Regions from separate parts of the Homo sapiens genome. Here regions 1, 3, 4 and 5 are each linked to region 2. Evidence: promoter capture Hi-C in 16 types of primary human blood cells and fetal thymus (Javierre and others, 2016). All regions are on one chromosome and are shown on one strand. Each heading gives the region's core, a stretch centred on a gene start or on the middle of the fragment in contact. The rest is flanking DNA. Distances are from core to core; before and after follow the strand shown. Region 1 overlaps ABCC1 (ATP binding cassette subfamily C member 1 (ABCC1 blood group)). Region 2 holds the start of MYH11 (myosin heavy chain 11). Region 3 overlaps ABCC1 (ATP binding cassette subfamily C member 1 (ABCC1 blood group)). Region 4 overlaps ABCC1 (ATP binding cassette subfamily C member 1 (ABCC1 blood group)). Region 5 overlaps ABCC1 (ATP binding cassette subfamily C member 1 (ABCC1 blood group)).

What was found. The method cuts DNA at HindIII sites, captures the fragments that hold promoters and counts their contacts. A CHiCAGO score of 5 or more calls a contact.
Region 1: a fragment that was not itself captured here is called in contact with the fragment with the promoter of MYH11 in region 2 in 16 of 17 cell types (M1 macrophages, megakaryocytes, M2 macrophages and 13 more); the score reaches 15.0 in M1 macrophages.
Region 3: a fragment that was not itself captured here is called in contact with the fragment with the promoter of MYH11 in region 2 in 10 of 17 cell types (endothelial precursors, megakaryocytes, erythroblasts and 7 more); the score reaches 10.2 in endothelial precursors.
Region 4: a fragment that was not itself captured here is called in contact with the fragment with the promoter of MYH11 in region 2 in 7 of 17 cell types (megakaryocytes, M0 macrophages, M1 macrophages and 4 more); the score reaches 7.1 in megakaryocytes.
Region 5: a fragment that was not itself captured here is called in contact with the fragment with the promoter of MYH11 in region 2 in 2 of 17 cell types (megakaryocytes and erythroblasts); the score reaches 6.4 in megakaryocytes.

Annotation. Positions count from the first base shown.
Region 1 is chr16:16,033,943-16,036,642 of GRCh38, reverse strand. ABCC1 (ATP binding cassette subfamily C member 1 (ABCC1 blood group)) reads right to left here. Exons shown (of 31, transcript NM_004996.4): 7 at 40-171. Among named protein-coding and RNA genes, the nearest start is that of ABCC1, 86 kb to the right of the region's middle. The HindIII fragment of the contact is 7,809 bases long and covers 1-2,700 here.
Region 2 is chr16:15,855,651-15,858,350 of GRCh38, reverse strand. It overlaps MYH11 (myosin heavy chain 11), which reads left to right and starts at 1,323. Exons shown (of 41, transcript NM_002474.3): 1 at 1,323-1,410. RefSeq lists an enhancer at 1-277. The HindIII fragment of the contact is 5,018 bases long and covers 1-2,700 here.
Region 3 is chr16:16,056,723-16,059,422 of GRCh38, reverse strand. The region is part of intron 12 of ABCC1 (ATP binding cassette subfamily C member 1 (ABCC1 blood group)); the gene reads right to left. Among named protein-coding and RNA genes, the nearest start is that of ABCC1, 110 kb to the right of the region's middle. The HindIII fragment of the contact is 3,716 bases long and covers 1-2,700 here.
Region 4 is chr16:16,015,367-16,018,066 of GRCh38, reverse strand. ABCC1 (ATP binding cassette subfamily C member 1 (ABCC1 blood group)) reads right to left here. Exons shown (of 31, transcript NM_004996.4): 5 at 1,446-1,571. Among named protein-coding and RNA genes, the nearest start is that of ABCC1, 67 kb to the right of the region's middle. The HindIII fragment of the contact is 5,742 bases long and covers 1-2,700 here.
Region 5 is chr16:15,996,031-15,998,730 of GRCh38, reverse strand. The region is part of intron 1 of ABCC1 (ATP binding cassette subfamily C member 1 (ABCC1 blood group)); the gene reads right to left. Among named protein-coding and RNA genes, the nearest start is that of ABCC1, 48 kb to the right of the region's middle. The HindIII fragment of the contact is 6,033 bases long and covers 1-2,700 here.

The DNA.
Region 1 (2,700 bases), core at 162-2,661, 180 kb before region 2:
GACCAGGGCATCCTGGAGGACAAGGAAACTCACACTTACTTCCTAGTCTTGGCGCATTCCTTCTTCCAGTTCTTTACCAAAACAGGCACGACTTGTTCCGACGTGTCCTCCTTGTTTAAGGACCAGAGGTCACTGCCCTCCAGGGGCTGGCGGTAGCCCCGGACAATCAACCTGGGGCCAAGACACAAGGGGGTTAGGCAATGAGAGTCAATGACAGGAGGAGGGGGAGGACGGGGCTCACTCACTCCACACGCCTGCTGATGCTGCTCCCCTCTGCAGCACAGCTGCCCGCTGCAAATGAAGGCAGCCATGCAGCTTGGGAAGTCAGAATGCAGATGGACATTTGCATATATTACAAGCTAATTACAGCTCATTCTGTTGGGTCATGCAGGAAAAATGGCTTTTTTTTTTTTTAGTGGTGCATACAAAAGACTTAGGGAAAAAAAGATGATTTAGGAGCGAAGTATCAGGATAGCTCTTTTTTATTTTTTATTATTCGTTCATTCATTTATTTACTTGGAGAGAGGGTCTCGCTGTGTCACCCAGGATGGAGTACAGTGGTGCGATCGCAGCTCCCTGCAGCCTCCAGCTCCCGGTCTAGAGTGGTTCTCCCATCTCAACCTCCCGAGTAGCTGGGACTTTGGGTGTAAGCCATTATGACTGGCTAATTTTTTTTTTATTTTTTATTTTTGTAGAGACAAGAGTCTCCCTATGTTGCCCAAGCTGGTCTTGAACCCCCGGGCTCAAGCAACCCTCCCACCTTGGCCTCCCGAAGTCTTGGAATTATAGGCATAAGCCACCGTGCCCCGCCAACTTTTTAAAATTTTAAATTAAAAAAGGCTGATATGGGCCAGGCACGGTAGCTCATGTCTATAATCCTAGCGCTCTGGGAGGCCGAGGTGGGAGGATTTTGTGAGCCCTGGAGTTCAAGACCAGCCTGGACAACATAGGGAGACTATCTCTACGAAAAGTAAAAATAAAAAAATTAGCCAGTCATGATGGCTCGCACCTGTAGTCCCAGCTACTCGGGAGGCTGAGGTGGCAGGATTGCTCAAGGCCAGGAGGTGGAGGCTGCAAAGAGCCGTCATTGTGTCACTGCACTCCAGCCTGGGCAACAGAGTCAGACCCTATAAAAAGAAAAAAAAAAAAATAGGCTGAAGGAAAAAATTAAAAAATAAAAAGGCTGACATGACAAAGCATTAGTAAGCATGAAATCTGGGTGATGAGATTATTGAGTTTTATTATATTAATCTTTCTATGTCACTCCATCCAGGCTGGAGTGTAATGGCGCCATCTCAGTGCACTGCAACCTCTGCCTCCTGTATTCTAGCAATTCTCCTGCCTCACCCTCCCAAGTAGCTGGGATTACAGGCGTGTGCTGCCCGGCTAATTTTTGTATTGTTAGTGGAGACAGGGTTTCACCATGTAGGCCAGGCTGGTCTCGAACTCCTGACCTCAGGTGATCCACCCACCTTGGCCTCTGAAAGTGCTAACATTACAGGCATGAGCCACCGTGCCCAGCAGACTAAACACTTTTATAATAAAAGGTAAAATACTTTCATGTTTTGTTCTAAAATAATTTCAAACTTATAGAAAAATTACTCAAATCATACTAAGAATTCACTCAACTCACCATTGTTAACACGTTGCCACGTTTGCAGTATCATTCTCTGTCTGTATCCATTGACATGCACACACAAACACACACACACATGCAAACACATCATCTTTTTCTGAACCACTTAAACAGTTAAAGGGCTGGCATGGTGGCTCACACCTGTAATCTCAGCACCTTGGGAGGCTGACGTGGGTGGATCACCTGAAGTCAGGAGTTTGAGACCAGCCTGGACAACACAGTGAAACTCCATCTCTACTAAAAATACAAAAATTAGCTGGATGTGGTGGCAGGTCCCTGTAATCCCAGCTACTCAGGAGGCTGAGACAGGAGAATCTCTTGAACCCAGGAAGCAGAGGTTGCAGAGAGCTGAGGTCCTGCCACTGCACTGCACCCTGGATGACAGAGCAAGACTCCATCTCAAAAAAAAAAAAAAAAAAAAAAAAAGTTAACATACAGCCTCTACATGCCTTTACCCAAGAAAAACTGGAGGTATTCTCTTCCAATCCAGGACATGCTCTTATGTAACTAGAGCACAATTTTCCAAAACAAGAATGAATGTTATTAGCATGCATCCGGGGTCCTGTAGTCATGAACAAATTACATCAACTGTCCCAGTGATGCTTTTTAATAGTAACTTGAAGAAATTATTTAAAACATCTAATTTTTTAAAACGATGTTTGTCATTAAGACAAGGATGAGACCGGGCATGGTGGTTCACGCCTGTAATCCCAGCACTCTGGAGGCTGAGGCGGGAGAATCACTTGAGCTCAGAAGCTGGAGACCAGCCTGGGCAACATGATGAAACCCCATCTCTACAGAAAGTACAAAAATCTGCTGGGCATGGGGGAGTGTGCCTGTAGCCCCAGCTACTCAGGAGGCTGAGGCAGGAGCATCACCTAAGCCCAGTAGATTGGGACTGCAGTGAGCTACAAGTGTGCCGCTGCACTCCAGCCTCAGCGACAGAGCGAAAGCCTGTCTCAAAAAAAAAAAAAAAAAAAAAAGATGATGCTTATTAGGGGCAAAAAAAGATTCTTCAAACAATCCCCACTAAGATGTTAACAACGGGCAGAAAAAGATATACA
Region 2 (2,700 bases), core at 74-2,573:
GGCCCGGCCCGGCCCGGGAACCTCGGAGGAGCTGGTGCCGCGCGGGGAGCGGAGCGCCCGGGCTGCCCGCGGGTCCCCGGCCTGGCGCGGGGCCAGCCCACCGCCTCGACTTCCTTTTATGGCCTGTGTGTGCGTGCGTGGACAGGAGCGGGGAGGGAGGGACGGGGAGAAGACGGAGAGCCTGGGGAAGAGAGAGAGAGAAAGCGCAGAGATAGGAGTGAGACACGCGGGAGAGATGGAGAGCAAGAGACACAGAGACCAGAGACAAAGTGAGACAGGAGGGAGAGACAGATACATCGACAGATCTAGAGAAGCGAGAGGGACAGAGACAAAAGATAGAGCGAGAGACAGCAATGATCAGAGTGACAGACATGCAGAGACAGTGGCAGAGACAGAGCGAGAGAGCCTGTGATGGAGAGAGACAGGGAATGCAATTTTAGGCGAGGAATCCTTGGGGAAGGGAAGTTGTTGAAGGGAACTCGCAGACTCTGGGGGCACACCCACTTTCTCCTTGGATCTTGACACTTGCATCTTGTAAATAACGTAATTATCACCGCCACCGCCTTCCCCCATTTTGTAGCTATGGACACCAAGTCTCAGAGAAGTGAAGTGACTTGCCCAAGGTCACGCAGCTGGCGAGTGGCGCACAGGGGAGGGGGACAGCTGAAATAATCACAGTGGGCTTATTTTTAATTTTTATTTGTATTTTGGTCGTGGTGATGTGGGTGGAGGTGGAGATGGCAAGTTGGGAAAAGTAAAAACTTCCCCTTCCTGCACGGTTCCCAGCAAGGGTGGGGGCCTCCTGTCTTGCACTTTGCAAAGTTCAAGAAATCCCCTTTCCCTACCCTTCACGCTGCACAGCCGGCCCTCTTTCCAGACAGTGCGATGCCAATAAAATGGGAAGTGGGGTGGGAGATGTCAAGTCAGATCCACCACAGCCCCGACACGGGGAGGAAGAGGTTAAAGCCTTTGCGGCCGGAACCGACTCAGGGAAGACGTTCTCAAGCATCCCGCACAGACACTGCCTGCTCGACCCCCTTTCTCTAGGGATCCGGAGCGTCTGCGACCGCCTGGGGCCGGGGCTGAGACTCCCGTCCCTGTGCGCACCTGTTCCGTGCGCCCTTGTGCGGTGCGCACCTGTTCCGTGCACCCTTGTCCCGAGCGCCCCAGCTCCTTGCGCTCCCGCCGGGGGTGCGCCCTGCAGGGGGCGCGGCGAGGGGGCCGCGAGGGACCCTCCCCAACTCCACCCCTTCGGCCTCCTCCCCTTTCCCAGCCGCGGGCAGCTCCGGGTCTATAAAGAGAGGCGTCCGAGGACGCGCAGGGAGATTTGGACGCTCCGGCCTGGGAGGTGCGTCAGATCCGAGCTCGCCATCCAGTTTCCTCTCCACTAGTCCCCCCAGTTGGAGATCTGTAAGTAGTAGTTGTCATTCTGGGGGCAGATTGCAGGGCAGGGGGGTGTTAAAAGTCCTATAGGGTATTCTATAGGGGCTGGGGTGCACTTAGGGGTCCCTGTTGTCAACCTCGTAAGGGCCATGGTGGGGGCAGAGTTGTGATTTGGATCTCTCTCTGCCTTATCGTCTTAGATTATCCTAGACTTTCCCCAAACAGCATTTCTTAAGATTGCCAGTGAGAAGTACCATTTTGGGGGTGCTTATTAACGATATCAATGCCTGGACCCAACTCCATTTCCCAACTCTAGAATCCCCAGAAAAACTGCCTTAAAAAAAAAAAAATTAGTCCCGAGTGATTCTTGTTAAGAGGCTAATCCAGGAGATATGCTCCCTTGGAAATCTCAGAGGTCCGGTGCAGACAATCAAGGCATCTCACTTTTATTCTAGGCACCAAAAAATTTACAGCTGAACTTCACTGAAAAGTCACTTGCTATCACACAGAAGGGCAAAGTGAGGCTCCTTGTGGATTTGACCGTATTGCACAGTTGTGTTGATAATGCATTAAATCAGTTAAAAACACATGGGCATAGGCTTAGCAGAAAGGAGTGTTGTTGTTTTTTTTTTTTAATCAGTTTAGGGGAGGTTCTTCTATGTTGAGAACCCCTGGGAGATAAGGCTGGTTGTGATCTAGTTTGTTACAGCCCACTTTTTCCTCTTCTCCAAATTAAAAAAAAAAAAAACAACTCACCCAGGTTGACCCCAAAGGGCCCCCAGATACCCAGGTGGGCTCCAAAGTCTCCATTTGCTTCCACGATCTGCAGGTGCGTTAGGTAAGATTACACTAGAATTTCCCGCAGAGCCACCTGTGTCAATGCCACTCTCGTGCCCAACCAAATGGGTAAAACGAGAGAAAGTGTGGCTACTGCCTGTTGTAAGTTTTCTTCCAGCACAGGGTCTGGTAGGGATTTTGCCACTTGAGAAAAGGTACCATCCAAAGCCATGCTTGTCAAGAAGTAAAAGAAAATATTTAGAAACCCAAGGTGGGAGTGTTTAGTTGCAGTATGAAGAACTGAGAGATTAAATGGTGAACTGTCCGTCCGGGGTTTGGCAAAAAGAATGCAGGCTATTAATAAACTGCTTTGCATAGTTTTTTGTTTCTTTGATTTACTCAACGATACTATTTTAGAATTGTTCAGAGACGGAACTTGACGCTGAACTGAAAGTCATTAGGTGGCAGGGTGTGAAATAAGATAGAGAATTTTGTTTGAAGGAAATTGATGTTTTCCCTTTGAGATAGCTACCGTTGATG
Region 3 (2,700 bases), core at 151-2,650, 200 kb before region 2:
ACAGGAACACAGCCACACCCATCGATTTCCATATTATCTAAGGCTGTTTTTGCACTACGCTGGAAGAGACTGGTATTTGTGACAGAGACTGTATGGCCCGGAATTCCGAAAGTATTTACAGAAAAAGTTTCTTTACTCCTACTTTCTGCCAGTCTCTCTCGAAATTTAATGTGCATACACACCACCTAGAGAACTAGTTACAACTCAGATTCCGTTTCAGTGGATCTGGGCTGAGGCCTGAAATTCTGCACCGTTAACAAGCACCAGGTGATGCCATGGCTGCTGGTCCACGGACCAGACTTTAGGCAGTGAGGATCCACTCCGGTGTCTCTACATGTCAACCTGAACCAGAAGCAGCAGCACCTAGGGATATGTTAGGAAAGCAAATACTCAGGCCCCAACCAGACCTACTAAAACTGAAAATTTGGGTGGGGCCCAGAAAGCTGAGTTTTATAGTAACAAGCTAACAGCCAGCACTGTGGCTCATGCCTGTAATCCCAGCACTTTCGGAGGCCAAGGCGGGTAGATCTCCTGAGGTCAGGAGTTCGAGACCAGCCTGGCCAACATGGTGAAACACCATCTCTACACTAAAGATATTTTAAAAATTAGCTGAGCATGGTTGCTGCATGCCTGTAATCCCAGCTACTCAGAGGCTGAGGTGGAAGAATCGCTTGAACCCGGGAGGCAGAGATTGCAGTGAGCCAAGATAGTGCCATAGCAATCCAACCTGGGTGACAGACTGGGACTTCATCTCAATAAATGAATAAATAATAAAATATAATAACAAGCTCTCCAGGTGATTCTGATGCAGGCTTGAATTTGAACACCATCTCTCCTGCAGTTCCAGACCCTGAGAGAAGTAAGGCAAGACTAAGAAAATTCAGTGGGAGCATGAACACGCTTTCGCAAATGCTGAAACAGCTGGAGCTTCCTTAGACATTCCACCTGAAACTCAACAAAGATGAAGCAGATGGTAGTTTAACAGAAAAGTTCATATTCATAAACATGTTTAACTCTGCTTCACAGAAACTTGCCAGAAAAACATATAATTTGCCAACCTGACCAAGAAGGAATAGTTGTAATGAGCACAACATTACAAAAAGAATGACACAGTTAATAAAAAGACAGAAAGAAAAAACAAACATGGGGCATGATCTGAAGTCATCCTTCACCATTAACTGTTTTTAACTGTGCTTAAAAAGGGAATTTCCAAAGTCCATCTCTGTATGGTCTCCTGATTTGCGGCCAACTTTGCAAATTGTAAGTTGCACTGTTGTCTTTAAACTTTTCAAAGCCAGCTAGGCAGGGATAGACCCATTACCATACCCCAGGACAGGTACCAGAACTTTCAGTGTAGCATGGATCATAACAGCAAAAAAAACAGGGAACAACCTGTTTTTGCAAGGAATGGGAGAAAGGGTAATTCCAGCAGGGCGCATCTGCACGTCAGACAAGCATCCATCATGAACACAAATGAAACAAGCTGGGAGTGGTAGCAGTGCACCTGGAGTCCCAGCTACTTAGGAAACTAAAGCAGGAGGATTGCTTGGGCCCAGGAGTTCAAGGCTGCAGTGAGCTATGATCGCACCACAGTACTCCAGCCTGGGGGACAGAGCGAGACCCCATTTCAAAACAAAACCCCCCAAAAAACTAAAATGAAGTAGACCAGAATGAACGAACCAAGACTATATATTGTTAACCAAAGAAAAGAGAACACTATGTACAGTATGATTCCATTTATATCTGTCAAAGTATTTTTAAATACCTATATGCTTGTCCATTTTTCTCTAAAAGCGTACACGAAACTGTCACTTTAGAAGGGAGGAACTGATGGAAGAGAGGACAATATACTTTTCATTTTATATCTTTCTGTATTTTTTTTTTTTTACAATGGATGACAATATTTGTTCAGCACCTGCTATGCACTGTTTTATATACTGAGGATACAGCAGTCAAGAGAAACGACAAAAATGCCCATCTGGAGCTGACATCCTAGTGGGGGAAAAGCAGACAATAAAATAAGTACATTTTATTTTACTTATTTTTTTTTTTTTTTACTTTTTTGAGACAGGGTCTTGCTGTGTTGCCCAGGCTGGAGTGCCGTGGCTCGATCTCGGCTCACTGCAACCTCAGCCTCCCAGGTTCAAGGGATTCTCATGTCTCGGCCTCCTGAGTAGCTGGGAATATAGGCATGCACCACCATGCCCAGCTTTTTTTTTCTTTCTTTTTTTTTTTTTTTTTTAAGCAGTAACAGGGTTTCACCAGGTTGGCCAGGCTGGTCTCGAGCTCCTGGCCTCAAGTGATCTACCCACCTTGGACTCCCAAAGGGCTGGGATTACAGGCACAAGCCACCGCACCCAGCCCAAAATAAGTAAATTTTAGAGTGTGTTTAGACCATGCCACTTGACATGTGGCCTATGAGACACTGACAATCCACACTTTGTGACCAGTTGGTGACAAAATAAGGACGCAGCACCACAATGTAGATCAACTATGGCACCAAGCGTGCCGTTCGACTCAGCTCGCACTTTTTGTCTTGCAAGGCTATCTTAATGCAGGAAGCAGGGGGCACTGGTTTACATTCTGGCACAAGCTCCTTATATCACAGTAAATAGATAACGAACGGTTCCTACACAGGTTGGCTAGAAGCTGCTAAGTGTGAATAAAACAAAGGAGAATGGAGAAGATGGCAAATGTTTA
Region 4 (2,700 bases), core at 150-2,649, 160 kb before region 2:
AATAGGTGCTCCAAGGCCTCCCTGCCCCATACTCACAATAAAACCCAAACAGCTCATCTGGCTCACAAGGGGGCTGTCCCACCTCTCAGGCACCCACTGTCTCTTAGCCTTCTCCTGCTGTGCTGGCTTTTCTTGCTGTTCTCTCCACACCTCCCCACCCCAGGGCCCTTGTACTTATTCCCCTCTGCCTGGAACACTCTTCCTCTAGGTGTTTGCTCCACCCACTACCTCACCCCTCTAGGTCTCCGCTCACATGCAGTTTTCTGGGCAGGCCTTCCCAGATCTCTCTTATCAAAAGCTGCACATGAGCCTGGGCAACACAGCAAGATCCCATCTCTATTTAAAAAAATAAAGAATAGGCGAGGCGTGGTGACTCACACCTGTAATCCCAGCACTTTGAGAGGCCAAGGCAAGAGGATCGCTTGAGCCCAGGGGTTTGAGACCATCTCCCCATCTTTAATTATTAATTAATTAAAAGTAAGCCAAGTTGGGGAGCAGGTGTAGGGAGAACATCAGGAGGAATAGCTAATGGATCCTGGGCTTGATTCCTAGATGATGGGTTGATCTGTGCAGCAAATCACCATGGCACACATCTACCTATGTAACGAACTTGCACATCCTGTACCTATACCCTGGAACTTAAAATAAAAGTTGAAGAAAGAAAAAAAATTAGCCAGGCATGGTGGTGTGTGCCTGTAATTCCAGCTACTCAGAAAGCTGAGGTAGGAAGATTGCTTGAGCCCAGGAGGTCAAGACTACAGTGAGCCGAGATCACACCACTGCACTCCAGCCTAGGCAACAGAGCAAAACCCTGTCTCAAAAAAAAGAAGAAAAGAATTAAGGGAAATTAATAAAGTGTTCCCTTTTGTTCTACTAGCAGAAACGGTGGCCATCTCTACACTCCTCACTGATAAGTTTCCATATTTACAGAATTTCTCTGAAACTGACAAAATAGACCAAGGATCTCACACTCAAATCCCTCAGGGGCCAGGCATTTGCCACAAGTGAGGAAAGCATGCCAGTATAATACAACAGGGAGTGCCGGGGACTCCAGCAACTCCTCAGCTCTGCCCTGTAGGATTATAGGCCTAATCTGTCAGAACTTTACTTTTCCAGAACATCTGGACAGCTAGAATTCATAAAAAATACCTGATTTGTAATTATCTGCTCACATTTTCCAAAATCACCATGCCAAGTGAGAAACCTACAGGCCTGCAAGACAGCAGTTCATCAATGACAAAGCAGATTCTCTCCTTCAGCTCCCCCAGCCACATCTAAGCCTCAGTTTTTCCATCTGTAAAGTAGGTGGGATGATATTCCCTGTATCAGGGGTTGAGGGAGGCTGGAACGAGATCCTGGATGGATCTAAGAAATGTTAGCTGGTACTGTGTCACGCATCTCTCTCACACACACACGCACACACACTCATCTGTGGTCACACTTACAGGGTCGTGGATGGTTTCCGAGAACAGGGGTGAGCGATCTGAGAAACAGGACAAGACGAGCTGAATGAGTAAGAGGGAAAAGTAGACGTAGAAAGTGATGTCACGAAACAGGTCCACCTGGGCATCCTACATGGTGGGGAAGGAAGGAAGAAAAAGATCACATTCTGGGGCTGGGTGTGGTGGCTCACGCCTGTAATCCTAGCACTTTTGGAGGCCGAGACAGGCAGAACACCTGAGGTCAAGAGTTGGAGACCATCCTGGTCAACATGGTGAAACCCCGTCTCTACTAAAAATACAAAAATTGGCCAGACGTGGTGGTGGGCAACTGTAATCCCAGCTACTCGGGAGGCTGAGACAGGAGAATCACTTGAACCCAGGAGGCGGAGGCTGCAGTGAGCCGAGATCACGCCACTGCATTCCAGCCTGTGTGACAGAGCAAAACTCCATCTCAAAAAAAAAAAAAAAAAAAAAACCAAGATCACATTCTGAGAGCAGGTGGCAGAAACCCACTCAGCCACAGGGACACTGCAGGCTCCCCAGGGGCTCCCAGCTCCCCCCGGGATGTAATGGCAGAAAGCCGGCTCCATCACGGGTAGTCTCACTGCTCACCGCTGCCTGATGGGAGGAAGACAGGGCTTGGGAGTGAAACAGAGCTGTATCAAGGCCTGGCTCTCTCACACTGGCTGTGGGATCTTGTCAACTTATTTAACCTTTCTGTGCCTCAGATTCCCCACCTATAAACCACCGGTGGTTCTTAACCAGGGGTGATTCTGCCTCCCAGGAAACATCTGGCAGTGTCTGGGGATATCTTCTTTGTGGTAACTTGGGAGTGTTATGGCACCCAGTCAGGGGAAGCCAGGGACACCCCTAAATGTCTACAAAGCACAGGACAGCCCCTACAACCAACGAGTCTCCAATCCAAAATGTCGATTAGTGCTGAGGCTGAGAAATTCTGTCCAAGTCACTGCAAGAGGTCAGGAAGATTATTCGTGACACATACACAGTCCCCTGCGAGGCACTTTGAAAACATGAACTCAATCAGCATCAGCTGCTATCACTCATAATAATATGTAGGCAATCAATAGTCAAATGTTCAGCTTCTTTTCCTTCCTTTGCCTCATGCCAGTCTCTAATTAGCTCCAAGATGGCAGGAACAGCAGGTTATTCCAAAAGCACACACTCCAGGTCAGGCGTGGTGGCTCACGCCTGTAATCCCAACACTTTGGGAGGCCGAGGCGGGTGGATCACGAAGTCA
Region 5 (2,700 bases), core at 22-2,521, 140 kb before region 2:
GAAGGAGAGGTCAGGAAACGCTGAGCAAAGGAAGGTGTTTCCCCTGCAGAAAGCAAATTGAAGAGCACAGGCTAGCTTCCTGCTCAGAGCCAGATGGCCAGCCCAGACCCAAAGGGCGGCTGTGGGAGGGAGCAGAAGGAAGGGAAGGAAGGCATGACGAGAGGAAATCTGACTCTGACCATGAACTATGACTGTTACAGAAAGCAGCCAACACGGGTCACCCCTGCCATCCACCCCCACATCACCTCCATCACAGCCCCTACAGCGGCCAACAGCATAGGTCACAAAGCTAAGATCATCTGAGGACCGGGCACAGTGGCTCACGCCTGTAAACCCAGCACTTTGGGAGGCTGAGGCGGGAGGATTGCTTGAGCTCAGGAGTTCAAGAAAAGCCTGGGCAACAAAGTAAGACCCTGTCTTCACCAAAAAAATTTAAAAATTATCCAGGCGTGGTAGTGCAGGCCTGTAGTCCCACCTACTCAGAAGGCTGAAGTGGGAGGATCTTTTGAGCCTAGGGGCTTGAGGCTGCAGTGAGCTTTGATCGTCCCACCCAGGCACTCCAGCCTGGGTGACAGAGTAAGAGACTGTCTCAAAGAAACAAAGTATCGGGACTGGGCGCAGTGGGTCACACCTGAAATCCCAGCACTTTGGGAGGCTGAGGAGGGCAGATCACTTGAGGCCAGGAGTTCAAGACCAGCCTGGCCAACATAGTGAAACCCCATCTCTACTGAAAAAGAAAAAAAAAATACATTAGCCAGCCATGGTGGCAAATGCCTGTAATCCCAGCTAGTCGGGCAGCTGAGGCACAAGAATCGCTTAAACCCAGGAGGTGGAGGTTGCAGTGAGCAGAGATCAGGTCATTGTCCTCCAGCCTGGGTGACAGAGCGAGACTCTGTCTCAGGGAAAAAAAAAAAAAAAAAAAAAAGGTATCGAGGCCTCCTGGATGTTCCTTACCGGCAGGGACCCTAATGTGTCCTTCTTTACTTTAACAACTCCAGGAGGTAAGAAGTGCGACTCTCACTACTGGAGGCTTCTGGGAAAAACGGTGAATAATGGGCAATACCTAAAGGCTCAAGGAAGGGACGATTCCCTGGCAGTCTGCAGGCCACTTGCTGTTCCCAACTCAAAGAATCACAGCTACCCGAGGCTGCTTCCTAATCTAGGGAAATCCAGCCAGGCCCACCACGCTCTGAGCAGAATCAGAAGGACCCAACTCTCCAGACACACAATTCAGCCACAAGAGATGAGTCCTGAACACGGTCACCGGTCACTGCACTGGCCCAGGGCCTGCCCTTTGGGGAACCTGGCCCACAGAAATCTTTACAGAGAAAGCGCAAGTCGGCTGGGCGCGGTGGCTCACGCCTATAATCCTAGCACTTTCAGAGGCCAAGGCAGGTGGATCACGAGGTCAGGAGATCAAGACCATCCTGGCTAACATGGTGAAACCCCGTCTCTACTAAAAATACAAAAAAATTCACCAGGCGTGGTGGCACAGGCCTGAGTCCCGGCTACGTGAGAGGCTGAGACAGGAGAATCGCTTGAACCCAGGAGGCAGAGGTTGCAGTGAGCCGAGATTGCACCACTGCACTCCAGCCTGGGCGATAGAGCGAGACTCCGTCTCAAAAAAAAAAAAAAAAGAGAAAGCGCATGTCCTCCCCAGCTCCCGGCTCCCTCCAACAGAGGCTTCTCCTTGCTGGACACTTCACCAGCTTGATCAAGTTGTGTCTCCATGCCCTCAGCCCTGACACTCAAAGAGTTGGGGACCCCGTCCAAGTCCGAGTGGCCCCTGACCTTTGTGTGTTCATAAAATTCCTGTTGCATAGCGTCATGTTTTCTGGGCTGAATGATGATGACTAAGGCACTAGGCATTGATCTAAGTCTTCCCATACAAGATCCTGGTGCTGACCTCCTTTCTGTACATGACCCTGGCCTTGACCTGCCTTCCTGGTTCAGCCCTGATTATCATGGAAGTCCTCGTGCACCGGGCAGCTCACTAACTTTGCCCTACACCCTTACTGCTCCCATCTGGATGGCACAGGTTCTGCACAGATGCTCCACCAGGGCCTGCAGGGATAAGGCAAGCAGGCCTGCAGGGATAACGCATGCAGCCCTGCCAGGGACCCAGCCAGCCAACTCCAGGACAGGAGGGAAGGCCACAGAGAGGATGGGGCAGACAACAGGCAGAAAAAGTGATTATGAATCTCAACTGCCACTGATGGGAGGTAATGAGGACATACTGTGTACCACAAGTTCCACTGAGGCCTGAGCATCCACTCCCAATTCAACCATCTCAATAACTCACAACCAGCTGGGTGCAGTGGCTCATGCCTATATTTCCCAGCACTTGAAGAGGCAGAGGCAGGAGGATAGTTTGAGGCCAGGAATTTCAGATCAGCTTGGGCAACACAGTGAGACTGTATCTCTACAAAAAAATTTAAAAACTTAGCTGGCCGGGTGGAGGGGTTCACGCCTGTAATCCCAGCACTTTGGGAGGCTGAGGCGGGCGGATCATGAGGTCAGGAGTTCGAGACCAGCCTGGCCAACATAGTGAAACCCTCTCTCTACTAAATGTACAAAAATTAGCCGGGCATGGTGGCGTGCGCCTGTAGTCCCAGCTACTCAGGAGACTGAGACAGGAGAATCGCTTGAACCCAGGAGGTGGAGGTTGTGGTGAGCCGAGATCAGGCCACTGCACTCCAG